Regions from separate parts of the Homo sapiens genome. Here region 1 is linked to region 2. The links are contacts of gene promoters, found by promoter capture Hi-C in human tissues and cell types (Jung and others, 2019). All regions are on one chromosome and are shown on one strand. The core of a region is centred on a gene start or on the middle of the fragment in contact, and the rest is flanking DNA. Distances in the headings are between cores, read along the strand shown.

Region 1 (2,700 bases), core at 76-2,575, 1.1 Mb after region 2:
GATTTTAGAAATTGGCAAGCTGATCCTAAAATTAATATGGAATTTCAAAAAGCCCAGCATAAACAAAATAATTCTGGAAAAGGAAAACAAAAAAGAAAGATTCATACTTCCTGATGTCAAAACTCACTACAAGACTGTGTGGCACTGGAAAGAGGACAGATATAGATCAATGGAAAAGAATTGAGAGTCCAAAAATACACCCATACCTTTATGGTCAATTGGTTTTTGACAAGGATGCCAAGGCCATTTAATGGGAAAAATCATCATTTCAACGAATGGCAACTGGATAGCCACATGCAAAAGAATGCAGTTGGACGCTTATCTGATGCCATTTACAAAAATTAACTGAAAATGCATCAAGAGTTAAAGTACAAAACTCTTAGGAGAAAACATGGGGATAAAGCTTCATAACCTTGGATTTGGCAAAGGATCAATAAGTATCTGTTGAATAGAAGAACCAGAAACTGTAGGAAACAGAAAACTTGAAGAACATGGAAAAGGAATGTTATTGATGAATTTTGAGATAATTTTTGTATATAGTATAGGGTAAGGAAAAGAGAGGTGTAAAGGATTAGAGATCAGTCTTAGAATGTACCTGGTGGACACAACTCTCCCAAAGGGCTATGTTCCCATTGCTGTGTGCCAATTGATTGATCATGAAGTTTGATGGTTGCAGCTGAGCTAGGTACGACCTGTGGGGACAAAGCAGGGACTGGCATGAGTGGCTTCCAGATCTCACCCATTACAAGATCAATCTCACATTCCATTCCCCCAAGCCTCCAAAATTAGACAGAACTTGCATCTTTCTCCCAGTTCTAAAACTCAACCATTTGTTTGTGCTCATCTTTGTCTCTTTGTCCCCATGCCCCCAGCCTGTGGCAACTACCATTCTACTGTCTGTTTCTATGAATTTAACTACTCTACATACTTCATATAAATGGAGACATACAGTATTTTATGGTTTTCTTGAGGCTGTCATATTTCAATTAGCATAAAATCATCACGATCCATCCATTCGGTACCATGCATTGGAATTTCATTCCTTTCCATTGTGTGTATATGTATTACGTTTATCCATTCATCTGTCAATGGGCACTTGGTTTGTGTTCACATTTTAGCTATTGTGAATAAAGCTGCTATGAACACGGGTGTACAAAATCTCTTTATGCCCTTTCTTTCAATTCTTTTGGATATATACCCCAAGGTAAAATTGCTGTTTTCTTACAAGAGTTGTATAATTCTTATAGATCTTACATTTGGAGGCCACATATGAAAAGCCAACAGCTACCATCCTACTCAATAGTGAAAGACTAAAGGTTTTTTCTCCAAGATCAGGAACAAGACATGGAGGCCTCCTTTCATCACTTCTATATTATCAGGGTAATGCGGGGCCCACACGAAGAGTTAGAAAGTGTTCCCTCCAACTCAGTTTCTTGGAAGAATTTGAGAATTCATGTTAGTTCTTTAAATGTTTGGTAGACGTCATCATTGAAGCCAACTGGTCCTGGGCTTTTCTTTGCTGGGAAGTTTTGGATTATGGATTCTATCTCCTTACTATAGTTCTGTTCAAAATCTCTATTTCTTCATGATTGAATATTGGTAGGTAGTGTGTTTTTAGTAATTTACCAGTTTTATCAATGTGCTCTAGTTTGTTGACATGCAATTATTTATAGTATTTTTTATAATCCTTTGGATTTCTGTAAAGTTGTTTTAAATGTCCCCTCTTTCATTTCTGGTTTTGGTTATTTAAGTTTTCTGTCTTTTTTCTTAGTCCATCTAAGTAAAGGTTTGTACATTTTATAGATCTCTCTTAAGGGTCAACTTTCAGTTTCTTTGAGTTTCTCTGCAGTTTTTCTATTCTCTATTTCTGTTATCTCTGATCTATTTTTTGCTGGTTTGGGCTTAGTTTGCTCCTCTTTTTTTTTTTTTTTTTTTTTTTTTTTTTGAGACAGAGTCTCGCTCTGTTGCCCAGGCTGGAGTGCAGTGGTGCGATCTTGGCTCACTGCAAGCTCCGCTTCCCAGGTTCATGCCATTCTCCTGCCTCAGCCTCCCGAGTAGCTGGGACTACAGGCGCCCGCCACCATGCCCAGCTACGTTTTTTGTATTTTTATTAGAGACAGAGTTTCACTGTGTTAGGATGGTCTCTATCTCCTGACCTCGTGATCCGTCCACCTCGGCCTCCCAAAGTGTTGGGATTACAAGCGTGAGCCACCACGCCCAGCTGTTTGCTCTTCATTTTCTACTTCATTATGTAAAAGGTAGATTGTTCATTTATTTCTTCTTTTAATGTGGTGAGCATTTACAGCTATCATTTTCCATTATAACACTGCTTTCATATCCTGTAACTTATGGTATATTGTTTTCATTTGTCTCAAGATATTTTCTTTTGAAACATTTTTCTAATTTCCATAGGTTTGAGGGTACAGCTGCTTTTTGTTGTTGTTGTTGTTACATGGATAAGTTCTTTAGTGGTGAGTTCTGAGATTTTAGTGTGCCTGTCATCTGTCTCAAGATATTTTCTTTCTTTTTTGAGGGGGGTGGGGCCTCCCACAATCTGCCCACCTTGGCCTCCCAAAGTGCTGGGATTATAGGCGTGAGCTACAGAGCTCAGCCTCCCAAGACATTTTCTAATTTCCCTTTTCATTTATTTTTTTACCCATTGGTTGTTTTAAAATGTGTTGTTTAGGCCGGGCGCAGTGG
Region 2 (2,711 bases), core at 195-2,694:
TGACCCAGGAGAGAGGCCCCCAGCCCAAAGGCTGGAATCTGCCCATGCCAGGCTGTGCCAGCCATAACAGGACTGGCTGTAGAGGGGCTCACCTCACCGAGGAGCTGGGGGAAAGGTGTCAACTGGCCCTGTTCACACTGCCTCCAGGTGGGCCATACCTGTGGGGCGAGCGAGGAACACGAAGCGGACCCAGGAGGGGCCCCGCTCCTCCACGGACAGCAGTGTCTCGGGCTCACAGTGCAGCCCCGCCTCCTCCTTCACCTCCCGCTGCAGCGCCTCCACGATGGTCTCCCCTGGCTCCATTCTCCCCGCAGGCAGGTACCACGACCCCCGGCACTCCCTCTTGGCCTCCTGGATCAGTAGCACCTCATCCTGAGAGGAGAGAGGATCCTCACTTCCTGCCACAGCCTTCCCTCGCCCCGGGACCAGGGGGCATCTCAAACACAGTCGCCCAAGACTCCCCTCTGGGTGGACACTCTCAACCCAGCTAGCGCTCCAGGAGACCTGCCCTCGTGTCGCTGGGGGCTGCAGCCCTCTCCTCTCTGCAATTCGTCTCTCTCTGGATTTAGGAAGACTTCCATTTCAGGAAGGGCTGAGATTCCTGGAAGCCGCTTCAGGGGCTGGAGATGAGGCCCCAGAGTGAGGGTCACCATGTGTCTGTCTGTCTTGGATTGATTTGCGTCTGTACCTGCCACTGTGTATCTCTCGCCTCCAACGGCGTGGTTTACAAACTGTGATGGGTCCTCACACTGGGGTCTGGCTTGAAACACGACCCCCACCTCCGCTCTGTACAACCCCGCCCTATGGCCCTGGCCCCGTCTAGTTGTCATTACATCGCCCACTACAGGCATCAGCACCAAAGGCCTGAAGGTAAGCCGGGATTGAGCCACTGCTATCTGAGGGGCCCTGGGCACTCCGCTAGACTCTGGGGAAGGGAAGGAATGAGGCCTAGTCGGATGAGACAAACAGGCCCCGGGCCTCAGTTTCCTCTTCTGCATATCGGGACGAACGCAGGACACAGATGCGAGTGGGAGTGGGAGTGCTTTGCAAAACTGGGAAGCGCCACGCACGCGGCAGCGCTGGCTGTGGCCGTTGGGTCTTCTGTCCCCACCTGGGCTGGCTGCGCGCTCCCGAGGCCCGGCGGGCCCGGGGGCGGCCGCTCACCTGCTCGCTGAGGAACACGGCCAGCACCACGTAGCACACGTTCTTCCGCAGCCGCACGGGCGCCGGCGGCTCCCCGGCCGGCGCCGAGTCGCAGCTGTGCACGCTGGACCCCTGGCCAGCCAGCACGGAAGCCAGCGCCCCCGCCAGGCCCTCCGAGGCCATCGGGTCCCCCGGGGGGCGGCGGGCCGGATCCTCGCAGACCGACTGAGCCGAGCCGCGGGCTAGAGTGCGCTGCGGAGCCCGCTCCCAGTCCCTGCGGCAGCGGGCCGGGAGCTCACGAGAACGCGGAAGCGCACGCGAACGCGGAAGCGCACGCGAGCTCTGGCCGCTGATAGGCTGCGCGGCGCCGCGGCCTGCCCGGATTGGCCGGCCCGCGGCATTCACCGAGGGGGCGGGGCCGCCCGGGGCCGCCCTGGAACTGGGGGGGCACGGGTCCGGAGCCCAGCGGACCCCGCCCGGCTTCTGCCGCCTGTCAGTCCCGTGCGCTCGGGACGTCTCCCAGCCGCCACCCGCTCGCCAACTCCCCGAGCGCGCACTGGTCTGCAGGAGCTCCGACGGTGACGTCATCTTTCCTGCAGGGCGCGTTGCGCCGCCGGGGTAGGCGACGGTGACGCGACAATCCGGTGACGTCACGGAGGCCCGGGGCCGCCCCCTGGAACCACTGTCCCGCTGTTGCCGTAAACACACAATGGCATTGCCGGAGTTGATCATATCCCAAATACCTTTCTTCTCATTCCACCAAAGAGTTATAAATGTCACATGGCCCGTGGGGTGGGGGACATAAACCCCTGCCTTGAAGGAGATTCTGCAATAGTTGGAGAGATGGACGGAGTCCTAGATGAGGAGTCAGCTGAGGGTTCGAGGCTAAGTGCTAAATGCTTGGTTTGGGCAGGAAGAGTGACAGGCGCTGGAAGGAGGGAGGGGGCAGGGCTGGGGATGGCGGGAGGGGTCCGGGGCTGAGAGAAGGCTGCCGTCAGCCGGCCCACCCTCATCAGTGTCCCTCTGCCTACCGCATTTCCCACGCAGCTCAAGGCCCTCTCTGCTGCAGATGGTGCGCCCTGGGAGGGCGGGGGTGGGGCCCTGCTCCTCCATCCTTGTCGTCACCCTCCCACCCAGCGTGCAGGACCTGGCGCGTGGAGAGCAGGGTGGGGGTGGTTGTGGCGAGCGCCTGCTCCTCTCCCAGCTCGGCCTTTCCTCCTTCACCCCACCTCAGCACTGGAAGGCAAAGCCAGCTGGAAGGGATCTGCGAAGCAGGCCGTCTGGCTCCTCACCTGGCAGAGGCCACCCCTTTCCTCTGCCTCTGATAGTTTTGTGCGCCTCCCTGCTAGGGAGACTGTGGCTTGGTGGTGTGGACAAAGCTCAGGACCTGCAGCCAGATGGCCAGCCACTGCTGACTGGCTTGCTCTGTGCTCCTGGGTGAGCTGTGGGCCTCAATTTTCTTATTTGTAGAGCAGGATCATAGCAATTCTTCTTTTACAGGGGTGTTGGGAAGCCACAACAATTGGAGAGGAGCTGTGTGGATTGTCCAGCACTGGGCACCGTCCCCA

Evidence for each region. Contacts are between HindIII fragments. The study calls those that stand out against the background at their distance.
Region 1: a fragment that was not itself captured here is called in contact with the fragment with the promoter of NUDT18 in region 2 in 1 of the 25 tissues and cell types used here (spleen).

The regions. Positions count from the first base shown.
Region 1 is chr8:23,211,521-23,214,220 of GRCh38, forward strand. It overlaps TNFRSF10A (TNF receptor superfamily member 10a), which reads right to left. Exons shown (of 10, transcript NM_003844.4): 2 at 596-692. Among named protein-coding and RNA genes, the nearest start is that of TNFRSF10A, 12 kb to the right of the region's middle. The HindIII fragment of the contact is 6,641 bases long and covers 1-2,700 here.
Region 2 is chr8:22,107,975-22,110,685 of GRCh38, forward strand. It overlaps NUDT18 (nudix hydrolase 18), which reads right to left and starts at 1,445. Exons shown (of 3, transcript NM_024815.4): 1 at 1,165-1,445; 2 at 159-372. The coding sequence starts at 1,326. RefSeq lists an enhancer at 1-559 and a silencer at 1,019-1,798. The HindIII fragment of the contact is 26,002 bases long and covers 1-2,711 here.